Regions from separate parts of the Homo sapiens genome. Here regions 1, 2, 3 and 4 are each linked to region 5. The links are contacts of gene promoters, found by promoter capture Hi-C in blood cells and fetal thymus (Javierre and others, 2016). All regions are on one chromosome and are shown on one strand. The core of a region is centred on a gene start or on the middle of the fragment in contact, and the rest is flanking DNA. Distances in the headings are between cores, read along the strand shown.

Region 1 (2,700 bases), core at 126-2,625, 380 kb before region 5:
CAGTGCCATGCTTGTGGACATTCCAGCTACCAGAATCATAGCAAAATAAACCTCTTTTCTTTACGCATTACCCACACTCAGGTATTCTGTTGCAGCAACACCAAATGGACTAAGACAAGAATGAGTGTGGCGTGGTGTTTTGTACTGTTAGCTGTTGTGCATCACAAGTGAAAGAAAGTTTACTCATGTGGTTCTCAATTTCCACAGTGCTGAGTGTTAAGTTACAGGGAGAACTATTACAGACCCACACATGATATGGAATGTTCATCACTGACCATGTATGTGCCTTCTATGACCTTGTATGTACTTGATTCCCCTGGATCATTCAACATCTCTTCTTGGGAATCTTGGCCTTTTGATGAAACAGGGTTAATTCCAAGGTGTCATTTCTTAAAGCAAACTTTGAGCTGAAATAACATCTGACCAGGGGAAAGTGATGCCATCGCCTTCTTCTTCCCCTCCTCCTCCTCCTCCTTCTTCTTCATTTTTATTATTATCATTATTATTATTATTTTGAGACAGAATTGTGCTCTCTCGCCCAGGCTGGAGTGCAGTGGTGCAATCTTGGCTCACTGCAACCTCCACTTCCCAGGTTCAAGCGATTCTCCTGGCTCAGCCTCCTGAGTAGCTGGGATTACAGGCATCTACCACCACGCTTGGCCAATTTTTGTATTTTTAGTAGAAATGGAGTTTTGCCACGTTGGGCAGGCTGGTCTCAAACTCCTGACCTCAAGCAATCCGCCCTCTTGGCCTCCCAAAGTGCTGGGATTGCAGGCATGAGCCACCATGCCTGGCCTGCCTTTTTATTATTATGCACAATTAGACGTTTTTGTTGCCAGTGTGCCACTGTAGTTATAAAGTGGGGAGAACAATAGTCCAGGTCCTTGGGTGTAGGGAGAGCACTTGTAATAAATATGAACAAACTTCACTGCCCTTCTGCAGGTGCCTCTTTTCTGCTGGAGCCGCTGCTTGTGGCCTCTCTGGTCCTGGAGGCACTTTCCAGGGGAGTGTTATCTTACTTCTCTGGGGCCTCATCAAGTTAAGGAACTTGCCAAATTCAAACACCTGTTAAAGGAGCAGAACCAAGAGTGAACTAAGTGTCACCCATTCAAAGTCTGAACTCTTCTCAGATTCTTTGTTGCTTCTGGCCATCTGTATTAGTCTGTTCTCACTCTGCTAATAAAGACATACCCGAGACTGAGTAATTTATAAAGGAAAGAGGTTTAATGGACTCACAGTTCCACATTGCTGGGGAGACTTCATAATCATGGCAGAAGGTGAATGAGGAACAAAGTCACGTCTTACATGGCAGCAGGCAAGAGAGCATGTGCAGGGGAACAGTCCTTTATAAAACCATCAGATCTCGTGAGACTTATTCACCATCACGAAAACAGCATTGGAAATACCCACCCCTATGATTCAGTTACCTCCCACTGGGTCCCTCCCATGACATAATTCCCATGGGAATTATGGGAGCTACAATTCAAGATAAGATTTGGGTGGGGACACAGCCAAACCATATCACTGGAAAGCTGTACAGTTGCTGGAGAGATGATAGGATCCATCCAGCTTTAGGAATGTCAGAGTTGAAAAGCCTTGAGCCATTGCTGGGTAGGCCCCCTGTTGACTGGTGGTGACTGGGGGCAGGGAGGGGAGGTGGCTGACCTGGTGTTAGAGTGCAGACCTCTGAGTTTGGGACTGTGGCTCCTGTGTACCTGCATGTGACATCCTCTCAGTTCCTGCATGGGCTCCTCAGAAGATGACACATTCTCAACCCTGAGCTGCCTCTTCTTAAAGTGGGTGCAGTTCCTCTATCAGACCCCTCTTTGTCCTTGTGATTCATGTTTTTGCCCATACTGCCTTCAGTTCCTAGAATAATTTCCTTTCCCCACCTAGGAAGCTCTTTTCCATCCATTCATCCCTGCCCCATCCCACCTCTGGCCTTCTGTCCCATATCTGGAAGCCCTCCCCCGTGTTCAGCCATGTACCTCACTAAGCCTCCATCCAGTGCAGTTGCCACTCCACCCTCCCTGCCTGAGGCCAAGATTTTGGTGGGATCAAAGAGTGCTGAAAAGCCTGGGCTTGAACTTGAGTCCAGCCACTCCTGCGTGACTTACCTTCTCTCAGCATAACAGCAGTGTCTTCCCATGGCACTGCTATAAAACCACAAGCACTTTTGCAGTTTTCTCCTTGCCTTTTGTTAAAATGAAATGTTCTCTGAAAAGTTCTTCCAAAATTCTATACAACTTTGTATTTTTGCAATTTGAACGCAGAGAAAAGCATGAAGAGATGGTTTGGAACAGGTTCTTTCTTGTCTGGAAGCTGATTCTGGGACAGTTTTTCTTTCTTTCACAGTAATTTCCAGTTAAATGGAGATGAACTGCATGCTTTGAAGACAGTTTGCCTTGCAGTGTTTCTACTAGTGTTACTGGTTTTTCACACTTTGTATCTAATTATTTTATCTCCATGACAAATGCAGGATAAAGTTCTCCATTTTCTGAGGAAAGTCATGTTTTTCCATAAGAAACATCACGATTGTCCATGCTGGACTTTTCTATCTGGGGCCACGCAGCCTTTTCCATCTCCTCTCCCAGGTTTCTCTTGTTCTGGCCCTGCGGTCCTGCAGCTTTCCTGCCTTTCCGTTTTCTACACAATCATTCTTCCGCCTGCATTGCTTTCTCCCCATCTCAACATTTCTGG
Region 2 (2,700 bases), core at 81-2,580, 410 kb before region 5:
CCAGGGCCTAAAAGCAATTATCAAATGATTGCATCGGTGACGGATGGTCCTATTATGATACCTTCCTGTGCTGGGATTAAAGATTTTACCATCAGGTGCCAAGGATGGCTACATTAATGTCATCTTTCTGATCAAGCTTAATTCAAATTTTTGTCGAAGAGAACAGTCAAATTAATGACATTATGATATCAGATTTCTACTTTGGACTACATGGGCCTAAAGTACCATGTGTCTTTTGCAACGTCAGCAGTTGCTGTTAGGAATATTTTCTTTTGTGAGGTTTTTTTTTTTTTTTTTTTCTTCAGTCCTTTTCGTCCTTATGAACCCATCACTAGGCACATAGAGACATTCATTGTTGACTGACTCGCTGGATATATGGCCTGGGGGTGGTGTTCCATTTACTCCTCAAATGTAAGGACAGCCTTCTGACCTGGAGGTGTTAGTTTAGGTGAGGGGATTGGAAACAGGAATAACAGTCCCCGCTCGGAAGCAGAGTGAGTTTTGTGAGGAACTCAGACCAGCTACCAGCTATGCTACTGGAGGTGCATACTGGGTGCTGTTGAAGTATGCAAGAGGCCACCTCACTCAAAGGAAGGGCTTAGGGAGGGATTATGGAAGCAGTCAATTCTGATCAGAGACTTCGAGGCAGCTCTTACATAAATGAGCCAGAAGTTCCGCAGATGAGCAGGCCTGACTTTCCGATCGAGTGGGAAGCGTGGGTGCAGCTTCACAGGCTTTGATTGTGTCAGGGACTCTAATGTGGACATGTAGAGGGTCTTTTGAGTTGAGGGCCAATTAAAGGTTGGGAGGTGAAAACTGTATGTGCACCAGTCATCAAGTTGGCAGTGAAGAATTCGGTGGATCAGTTCTACTCACATGGGCTTGCGGAGACTCCCTGGACTTGAACTTATCCCCCAAAACTTGAGGAACCTGCCTCTTTGTGACTTGGGGCGTAGGAAGTGGAAGTTGCTTCCTACGGACAGGCAGAGCCCAGGTTCACAGTGGAGGGTCCCCGCTGAGTCTGCCTGGCGTCTCCTCCCTGACTTCTCCACGCCCAGGACTCCCTCTGAGCAGTGAGTGGCCAGGCAGGTGCCTGCTCCTGCAACCCTGAAGCCGGGAAAGGGTGGTCTCTCTCCCCATCCTTGACATAGAAATCACCACCCGACATTTTTGCTGTTTTAAAACAGTTCATCCTGCCATGGTAAGTGATGGCAAACATCTGTGTCATTTCATTCTCAAAGGCCCACCTTCTGTGTGCTGCCTGCTTCTGGACACTTTCCTGATGGTCCTGCTGGAAATACCGTCCCTGCCGCTATGAGTTTGAGAGCGGGCTTCAGCCTCCCCATGATGCAGCACATGCTGCCTGGGATGGCGCTGCTTGTGTCAATCTCCCTGAAATGAAGCACCCTCTGTCCAGGGGACTATGTTCTATTTGTCGAAACTTCACAGGACATAAGTCACTGCTGGGCCTGTGCTCTTTACTTTCTTCACCAATCTCTCTGCTCCCCACATAATACTAGACATATTTCCAACCCCTGAAATTCCCAACTGCTCTCTCATATATAAGTAAGCAAAGGAAAAATTATGTGGAAGAATTTTTTTTTGATGTCAAGAAAAGAGGAATTTAGGCTGGCTGCAGTGGCTCATGCCTGTAGTCCCAGCTACTCAGGAGGCTGAGGTAGGAGAATCCCTTGAACCAGGAGGCGGAGGTTGCAGTGACCTGAGTTTGCGCCACTGCACTTCAGACTGGGTGACAGAGCGAGACTCCATTTCAAAAAAAAAAAAAAAAAGGAAATTAAAAAATAGTGATATGTCTAGGATATAGCATGATGCAAACCCAAACCAGACAGACCTGGGTTTGAATTGCAGCTCATGATCTGCAAGGCCACCTATTAAAAGGGGCCTCTAAGCAGAATGTCTCCACCTGTGAATGTGGCCATTCTATCTGACAGGATGTTATGAGACTAGGAGATAATGACGAACCCACCGGCTCTGACCTGCAGTTTCTTCTGTAAAGATGGGGACAGTTCATAGATCTCTTGAGAGGATGAAAAATCATGCATCTCCAGCGTCCAGCCTGGTGCCTGACATGAAATGGAGGCTTACTGGTCGGGAGCTCTGACATTATCTGGAATTCTCCATTACTCTTCTCACACCTGTCCACCATCGTCTGGAATTCTCCATTACTCTCCTCGCACCTGTCCCACCATCGTCTGGAATTCTCCATTACTCTCCTCACACCTGTCCCACCATCGTCTGGAATTCTCCATTCCTCTCCTCGCACCTGTCCCACCATCGTCTGGAATTCTTCATTACTCTCCTCGCACCTGTCCCACCATCATCTGGAATTCTCCATTACTCTCCTCGCACCTGTCCCACCATCGTCTGGAATTCTCCATTACTCTCCTCCCACCTGTCCCACCATCGTCTGGAATTCTCCATTACTCTCCTTGCACCTGTCGCACCATCGTCTGGAATTCTCCATTACTCTCCTCGTGCCCAAGGCAAGGCGAGCCAAAGCTTCCCGTTGACATGTCAGTATTATTATTCCTCCTCTGTTTATGAAAGTGGCCAAGTTGATGAAGGAGAAGGGCTACCCAAAGATGTTCTTTTCTGGAGAAAGCTGTGAATATTTTATGAAACATACCACCAAGTCCTGCCATGGCGCCTGCGCCTGAGCCTCCTGCAGGAGTCACCTTA
Region 3 (2,700 bases), core at 115-2,614, 430 kb before region 5:
ATTTCTGAAAAAATAAGCTGTTGGAATTTTGAAAGGGATTGAGTTGAATCTTTGTTTTGGGTAGTATTGGCATCTTAACAATAATAAATCTAGTATCCATGAACGTGGGATGTCTGCCATTTATTTAGGTCATCCTTTTTTTTTTCAAGCAATGTTTTGTAATTTGTAGTGTACAAGTCTTTTACCTCTTTGGTTAAATTTATTCCTAGGTATTATTCCATATACTATTTTAAATGGAATTGCTTTCTAAATTTTCTTTTCAGATTATTCATTGCTGGTGTGTAGAAATACAACAGATTTTTGTGTGCTGAATTTGTATCTTGCAACTTACCTGAATTTATTAGCTCTAGTAGCTTTCTTGTGTGTTCTTTGAGATTTTCTAATGTAGGCTCATGTCACCTGTGAATACAGAGAGTTTTACTTCTTCCTTTCTAATTTGGATGCCTTTTATTTCTTTTTGTTGTTTAATTGCTCTGAGGAAGACTCTGATTCGGGATTGAATAGCAGTGGGGAAAGCAGGCATGCTGTCCTGTTCCTGATCTTAGGGGAAGCTTTCAGTCTTTCTCTGTTGAGTATGATGTTAGCTGTGGGTTTTTCATAGATACCCTTTATCATGTTGAGGAGTTCCCTTCTGTTTCTGTTTTGCTGGTTGGATTTTTATGTTTTATCGTGAAAGGATGTTGAATTTTGTCAATATTTTTCCTGCATCAGGAGAGATGATCATGTGGATCTTTTCCATTATATTAATATGGTACATCACATTGATTTTTAAAAAATGTTGAACTATCCTTACGTTCTAGGAATAAATCCCCCTTGGTCATGGTACATAGTCCTTTTAGTTTACTGTTCAGTTTGGCTTCCTAGTATTTTATTGAGGGTTTTGCATCGGTATCCATCAGGAAGACTGGTAGCTTTCCTCTTTTCTTCTGATGTCTTTGGCTTGATCTTGTTTCAGGGTGATGCTGCTGGCCTTACAGAATGTGTTTAGAAGCATTCCTTCCTCTTATATTTTTTGAGAGTTTAACAAGGTTTGGTTTTAATTCTTTAAATGTTGGGTCAGATTTTCTAGTGAAGCCATCTAGTCCTTGACTTCCTGGTAGGGAGGTTTCAGATGACCCATCCCACTTGTAGTTCCTTGGGTGCCCATGGCCTCTCTTGCGTGCTGCCAAGCCTTAGCACTTGCTGCTGTGTCCACCATCAAGGATTTCTCCCCTTTCCTGTTTCCTCCTCCTCCTCCTCCGACTTGGCCTCCTCTTGGAAGGTTATTCTGAGCCTCCCACTTGCACCTTTCCCAGGCATTCTGCATGACCCTGTCCTCATCAGCGTCTTGTCATTGTCTTGTGTCCTATCTCTCTTGCCCACTAGACCGAGGTCTCCAGGGCTAAGGTCTTTTCGGTTCACTTGGTGAGTGCTTGTTGGAGGGATTAGGAGGCCCCGCCGTCTGCGTGGGGACTGCTGTTTGTTCTGTGTTTGTGTCAAGCTCTGCGTTGGTGGGCTTGATGGAGTGAAGCTGCAGTGGTGAAAGTAAAGCCCTAATCTCATTTCTCAGTGACTCACAGTGGAAACAGGGAAGATGATGGCAATCTACTGAGGCTGAGGTTTGGGTGATAATAAAATAATATGAGAGAAAATCATGCTGTTTTACAAACGCCTCTGGCAAATAAAAAGACCCGTGGGTGTCAAGATTAGAAATGAAGTCTTACGTGGTTTCGGCCCCTTTTTAATGGCCTTTTCCTCTTCTGAGTATAAACACTTCTTACAAAGGGAAAGTCCAAGGAGCACGTTGTTTTGGAGGCACCAACTTCTGCAGCCTTTGGACGGAGGACTGTGCTGTGCTGGACCCTGGGTGCAGAGATGAGAAAGTCCCCATCAGTCACTACCCCTATTTAGTTTCCAGGCAACAGGGTCTTGATTGGGGATGGCTGTCTTGGCATAGCATGGAAGGTGACAGCAGAGGTGTGACCAGGGAGGATCCGGAGAGCAGGGACTACGTGGCCTTCAGGGCAAGCTGGAATTCTGTGGCTGAAGGGGTGAGAGATGTCCTCATTGGGGGGCCGACTGTGAAAGTTCATGCTGCATCCAGTAAGGTGCAGGGACAGCGGTCCCCTCGGTCCCCTGGGAAGAGGGCTGACTCCAAACCCTTCTAGGATGTGAGGCTGGAGCCAACTGTAAGCTTTAGGCCAGATTAGGAAGAGCTTTGGTGGACTTTTTGCTAAACCTTGAAGTCGGTGAGATGTTACTGAATGTGTGTGAGTGAGGAGTTGTCTGGGAGCCCTGGATTGTCTGGATGGAGAGGACCACCAGGCGACTCGCCCTCAAGCCTTTGTTCCCTCAAGGTTCTTTGTGAAAGAACAGGTCTTGGGTTTGAACCCTGAGGGGAGAAAAAGTCAGTGCTTCATTTTTCGGTGGCAGGGTTGTCTAGGACGGGGCCGTCTAGGAGAAGCGGTGTGCAGTTTCCACCACAGAGCCGCACCCCTTGGCAGCCAGGAGGCCTGGCGCATCACTGAGCCTCTGAGCCTGGCATTCTCTGGATGTAGTTGGAGGTTCGTGCTCATCTCTTTTCTTCCTCAGGGGGCTGTTGCAGGGGCCAGATGAACTATGTCTATGAGAAAGCCTTATAAGCAGCTAACACTGGACAGATGGTGATCGTGTTAAAATTCAAAGCACTTTTTAGCAGATACTCTCAATACAGTTGTGTAG
Region 4 (2,700 bases), core at 107-2,606, 490 kb before region 5:
GTGTAGTGGATCATTGAGTGTGTTTTAGTGTCACAGATGTGAGCGGTATGGTGGATCATTGTTTTAGTGTCACAGGTGCGAGCTGTACGGTGGATTGTCGAGTGTTTTTTAGTGTCACAGATGCGATCTGTACAATGGATCATTGAGTGTTTTAGTATCACAGGTGTGATCTGTACAGTGGATCATTGAGTGTGTTTTAGTGTTACAGGTGTGATCTGTACGATGGATCGTTGAGTGTGTTTTGGTGTCACAGGTGTGATCTGTATGATGGATCGTTGTGTGTTTTAGTGTCACAGGTGTTATCTGTACGGTGGATCATTGAGTGTGTTTTAGTTTCACAGGTATGATCTGTTCGGTGGATCCTTGAGTGTGTTTTAGTGTCACAGGTGTGATCTGTACAGTGGATCGTTGAGTGTGTTTTAGTTTCACAGGTATGATCTGTATGGTGGATCCTTGAGTGTGTTTTAGTGTCACAGGCGTGATCTGTACAGTGGATCATTGAGTGTCTTTTAGTGTCACAGGTGTGATCTGTACAGTAGAACCTTGAGTGTGTTTTAGTGTCACAGGTGTGATCTGTACAGTGGATCGTTGAATGTGTTTTAGTGTCACAGGTGTGAGCTGTATAGTGGATCATTGACTATGTTTTAGTGTCACAGGTGCGATCTGTATGGTGGGTCTTTGAGTGTGTTTTAGTGGTCAGAGGTGTGAGCTGTACGATAGGTTGTTGAGTGTGTTTTAGTGTCACAGGTGTGATCTGTGAAGAATACATGGTCAGGGGTGTGTAAGTGTAGGCATACAAATGCTCATAGGGATTTTAAAGCTTCAAAGACAGTTGATACCAGAGCTGGGTATTGAAAGATGAGTAGGTATTGAGGTTCCTTTGGGACCTTCCAGTCAGCGAGTGCCCTAGGTCCAGGCACAGAATGTGCCTAGTGTATTTCAGGAGCCTCAGTTACAGTTGGCCTCTGTGTCCATGTGGGTTCCACAGCTGTGGATTCAACCGACCTTGGATTGAAAGTATTCAAGCAAAAAAACTGCATCTGTACTGAACATGTACAGACATTTTTCCTATCATTAGTTCCTAAATAATACAATATAACTATTTACATAGCATTTACATTTTATTAGGTATAATAAATCTAGAGAGTAAGTTATACAGAAGGATGTGCATGGGTTATATACAGATGTGCTATTTTATATCAGGGACTTGAGCAGTTTTGGTATCCAAGAGAGATCATACTGAGGGAGGGGGATGACTGTGGGTGGGGTGTGAAGGGGTGCGGGCTGGGGAGAGACTGGATAGGAGGAGTTAGGAAGGCAGAGAAAGGAGGACAGTGAATGTAGAGGCGGAAAAGATAGACAGGGGCCTTTGCCATACTAAGGAGTTTAGATTTTAAATGGGTGGTCCTGGGGGTTTTAAGCAGTAGAATGTCTGGATGGAATTAATTTTCAGAGAGTTCAACCCTGGGAGCGCTAGGGTTACAATGATGGATTAAAACCGGGATTAGAATTTGTGGCTCCAAGGAAGCACTGGAGCTGGGACTGGACCCTGTGTTTTCTGAATCTGCTTTTTGGACTTTTCCCAGAATGTTGCCTTGTGCAAAATGACAAAATGTGTTAGCTTCTACATACTGGGAGCCTTCTTTGCGTTGGGCACTGTGCTGAGTGCTTTGCATGCATTGCTAGTCATTCTCAGACCAGCCCTGAAAGATAGGTATTACAGTCTTCATTTGCAGCGATAGTTTGTCCACAATCGCACAGCTTGGAGGTGGCCTTGGTCACCTGACCTCAAAGTGCATGCTCTTCCCATTAGCACAGCGGGCCTCCTGTGGACTGGTTTCAGCCTTTCCAGTGGACTTTCTAGCAGTAGGCACAATTACCAACCAAGCTTTTTTTTTTTTTTTTTTTTTTTTCTGAAAGTACAAAGATCCCTTCTGCCCTTATGGAACTTTGTGGGAGAGTGTCATTTCTTTCCTTCTGGCTCAAATCTGAACTTCTTAAACTTGCCAGTGATATAAAAAATGGACAGTTTGTGCTAGTATATGTTTTCAGCTCAACTTTGAAGATTTATATCCAAGACTTACATTCAGCTGACTCAGGTAAGAAGCTAGGCTTTGCAATGCCTACAACATGAAGCTTCTCCCTATTCTGAAGGCAGGTCACTCAGTTTGGGTGAAATTCGTGTTCATGATTTTAAAGCTTAGATCTGCAAGAATCTAGGCCTTAGTTCTAAGTGTGTAATTTAAATTTATTCCCGTGGGGGAAATAGCCAATATCTCCAGTAGAAAAGCACTTCAGAACACATTTTCACATTTTAGATTGATGAGCCAGGGATTTGAAAGATTATTTAGAAAATTTCCTCCAAGCAACTCTGGAATGAAGGTATATGTGGCAGAGGTGTTTGAAACCTGTCTTTCCCCAGTGAAATACTTGTTTTACTTCTGCAAGATTTAAACAGCCATTCAGCTGGGCATGGTGGCTCACATCTGTAATCCCAGCACTTTAGGAGGCCGAGGCGGGCGGATCACTTGAGGTCAGGAGACCAGCCTGACCAACATGGTGAAACCCTATCTCCACTCAAAATACAAAAATTAGCCGGGTGTGATGGTGGATGCCTGTAATCCCAACTACTCAGGAGGCTGAGGCAGGAGAATCATTTGTACCTGGGAGGTGGAGGTTGCAGTGAGCCAAGATTGTGCC
Region 5 (2,700 bases), core at 135-2,634:
CCGAGTCCCTCAAACTCTCCACCCGCCAGGGCTGCTTGCGCTCTTGGGGAGCGGGGCTAGAAGGACCCAAGAAGCCGCGTTTATCCTCCCATCCCCCGCCAAAACCCGCCGGCGGCTCCGCCCCCGCCCCCTCCCTGGCGGCTCAGGCCGCCCCTCCCGGGCTCCCTCCGCGTGCGCCCTGCGCCGCGCTGGGTCTGCAGCGGGAGCTGCCACAGCAGCCTCGCCAGCTGGCTGGGGACCAGGCGGGAGGTGGCGCGCCCTGGAGGCTGCGGGAGGGAGGGAGGGAGGGAGGCCCGGCCTCGGCGTAGCCCGGCCCCCGCTCCCCGAGGCCCTCCCGCCGGAGCGGGGCTGCCAAGCGCACACACACACACACACACACACGCACATACACACGCGCACACACACATTCGGGCTCCCAACGGCGCGCACGCACGTAGCGCCCGGGGCAGACCAGCGCGGCGGCCGCCTCCCGGGACGCCCGGACGCCGGAGGGCCCCGACCCCCGCGCGGCTCATGCGCCCGCGTCCGCCCCGCTGCTCCGCGAGGCCCGCGGGACCCCTCCCGCCGCCGCCGCCGCGCCCGCCGCCCCCGGAGGAGCGGGCTGGCCGACCGCCACCGCGCCGTCCCCCGGCCGCCCCCGAAGCCGCTCCATCGCGGTCCCTGCCGTCCTGGGGCCGCGCCCCGCTCCCGCGCCTTGGGGGTTGAGCCGAGCAAACTTCGCGCACCGGCCGACGCCCGGCGGGGACCCCGCTGCGCACCCGCGCGCCCGGGTGGGCGCTGGGCGCGCGGACCTTTGGGGAGCGGGCTGCCCCTCCCGCTGCACCTGCTCGGCCCCCTCCCCGCTTGCAGGGGACTCCAGAGACACCGCCACTTCGCAAACTTTTCCTCCCCACCACCGAGAGGGGGCGAGGAGGGGTAAAAGGGGAAGCAGGTTCCGCTGGGCGCGCGGACCTGCAGGCTCCTTGCTGGGCACCGCCACCCGCGAGCTGGACCCACAGGGGTACCGGGCCCCGCGGCCGCCCTCCGGCCGCTTTCTGGCTCCGGTTCCCGTCCCTGCGTTTCCCGCGGGAGCGGGGGGCGGGGTGCGGAGGGCAGCAAGGCCCGCGCGGTACCCAGCGGGGCCGCCCTGCATGGCCCTGCGCAGTGGGGCGGGCTGCTTCGGCCGGGTCTGGCGCAGGGTGTCGGGGTTCCCGGACGCCTGGCCCCGGCGCTCGAGCAGCCTCCTGTGCCTGTCCGCCTTCTCGGCTGAGCCCGGGCCCGCGCCGCCCCTGCCCCGCCAGCCGCCTCGCGGTGGCGGTGGCTGTGGCGGCCCCAGCGGAGGGGGCCCCCCCCAGCCTCCCCGCCCCCCGCCTCCCCGCTGCTGCTGCTGCTGCTGCCGCCGCCGCTTACAACTTGGAGGCGGCGGCGGCGGCGGCGGAGGAGGAGGCGGCGGCGGCCGCCGGGCGCTGCAGTGGGACGCGCGCGGCTGTGAGCCTGCGGGACATGCCCCCCGCGCCGGCTCCTTGCTGGCGGCCATGAAGAGGCAGAACGTGCGGACTCTGTCCCTCATCGTCTGCACCTTCACCTACCTGCTGGTGGGCGCCGCCGTGTTCGACGCCCTCGAGTCGGACCACGAGATGCGCGAGGAGGAGAAACTCAAAGCCGAGGAGATCCGGATCAAGGGGAAGTACAACATCAGCAGCGAGGACTACCGGCAGCTGGAGCTGGTGATCCTGCAGTCGGAACCGCACCGCGCCGGCGTCCAGTGGAAATTCGCCGGCTCCTTCTACTTTGCGATCACGGTCATCACCACCATAGGTAAGGGCTGGGCGCGCCGCTGGGCTCCCGCGCCCCGGGAGGAGTCCGGGGAGGCGGCTGAGCGCGCCGCGCCGGGCTGGGTGCAGGGCGTCGAGGGTTAAACGCAGCCTCCCTTGGGGGCCTTCCCGCAGCGCCCCCTCCTCTCTAGGGAGCCCCCCCTCCGCGGCGCCTCCGAGCCTCACCCTTCGGGGACCCCACCCGGTGCTCTCCACCGCGCTGGTGTCTGGGCCGGGCGTGCGAGCCCCGAGCGAGTGTGCCTGAGCCGGGAGGGCGGAGGCGCCACTTTTGCGAAGAGAGTGGAGCGCTAAGAATAATCCCATAGCAGACACCCACCCACCCACCGCCCCGGCGCGGGCTGGGCTGCGCGGGGCTCTGAGCCTTACACTTACTACCTCTCTGGGAGTTGGAGAGGGCTGGCCTGGCACCCATGGCTCCTAGAGGGACTCAGGTGGCAGGGGAGTGCGCCTGGGGCGTGAGAGGCACTGACCCTCCGTAGCCCCTGGGCCCCGCTCCAGGCTTCTCTGAGCTCAGATTTCATCTCTCTTCCCCCCGCCCGGCTCCTTTTTTCCCCTGAGTTCCAGTTCTGGAGCTTGGACTTCCCAGGCCCCTGGGAGGAGAGAGTTTGCTCTCTGGTGCTTGCGTTGGGGGTGGCAGCCCCTCAATTGCTCTCAGTAGAGGTGGAGAGTGGGGGCAGGGCAGAACCTGCCCACTCCCTAGGCTGTGACACTGGGAAAGGCCAGTCTAGACATTGCCCAGAAACCAGGGAACTTGAGCCCCAGTCACGAGAGGGGGTCCAGCTGGTAAACTGCAGGGATGCCCGCCAGCCCCACTGCCAAGGGCGCTATTCACAGAGCAGGGTCTCTGGTCGGTCCCGAGGGCAGTGTCCCCTCTAAGGCTGGGGGC

The links. The method cuts DNA at HindIII sites, captures the fragments that hold promoters and counts their contacts. A CHiCAGO score of 5 or more calls a contact.
Region 1: a fragment that was not itself captured here is called in contact with the fragment with the promoter of KCNK9 in region 5 in 1 of 17 cell types (M2 macrophages); the score reaches 5.4 in M2 macrophages.
Region 2: a fragment that was not itself captured here is called in contact with the fragment with the promoter of KCNK9 in region 5 in 2 of 17 cell types (megakaryocytes and endothelial precursors); the score reaches 7.6 in megakaryocytes.
Region 3: a fragment that was not itself captured here is called in contact with the fragment with the promoter of KCNK9 in region 5 in 3 of 17 cell types (megakaryocytes, endothelial precursors and M0 macrophages); the score reaches 6.8 in megakaryocytes.
Region 4: a fragment that was not itself captured here is called in contact with the fragment with the promoter of KCNK9 in region 5 in 2 of 17 cell types (M2 macrophages and megakaryocytes); the score reaches 5.4 in M2 macrophages.

What each region holds. Positions count from the first base shown.
Region 1 is chr8:140,077,745-140,080,444 of GRCh38, reverse strand. All of the region lies in intron 17 of TRAPPC9 (trafficking protein particle complex subunit 9), which reads left to right. Among named protein-coding and RNA genes, the nearest start is that of PEG13, 21 kb to the left of the region's middle. The HindIII fragment of the contact is 3,620 bases long and covers 1-2,700 here.
Region 2 is chr8:140,111,932-140,114,631 of GRCh38, reverse strand. All of the region lies in intron 17 of TRAPPC9 (trafficking protein particle complex subunit 9), which reads left to right. Among named protein-coding and RNA genes, the nearest start is that of PEG13, 13 kb to the right of the region's middle. The HindIII fragment of the contact is 2,384 bases long and covers 139-2,522 here.
Region 3 is chr8:140,131,333-140,134,032 of GRCh38, reverse strand. All of the region lies in intron 17 of TRAPPC9 (trafficking protein particle complex subunit 9), which reads left to right. Among named protein-coding and RNA genes, the nearest start is that of PEG13, 32 kb to the right of the region's middle. The HindIII fragment of the contact is 1,622 bases long and covers 554-2,175 here.
Region 4 is chr8:140,192,836-140,195,535 of GRCh38, reverse strand. The region is part of intron 17 of TRAPPC9 (trafficking protein particle complex subunit 9); the gene reads left to right. Among named protein-coding and RNA genes, the nearest start is that of PEG13, 94 kb to the right of the region's middle. The HindIII fragment of the contact is 1,068 bases long and covers 823-1,890 here.
Region 5 is chr8:139,701,807-139,704,506 of GRCh38, reverse strand. It overlaps KCNK9 (potassium two pore domain channel subfamily K member 9), which reads left to right and starts at 1,384. Exons shown (of 2, transcript NM_001282534.2): 1 at 1,384-1,797. The coding sequence starts at 1,515. RefSeq lists a silencer at 1,367-1,661. The HindIII fragment of the contact is 15,596 bases long and covers 1-2,700 here.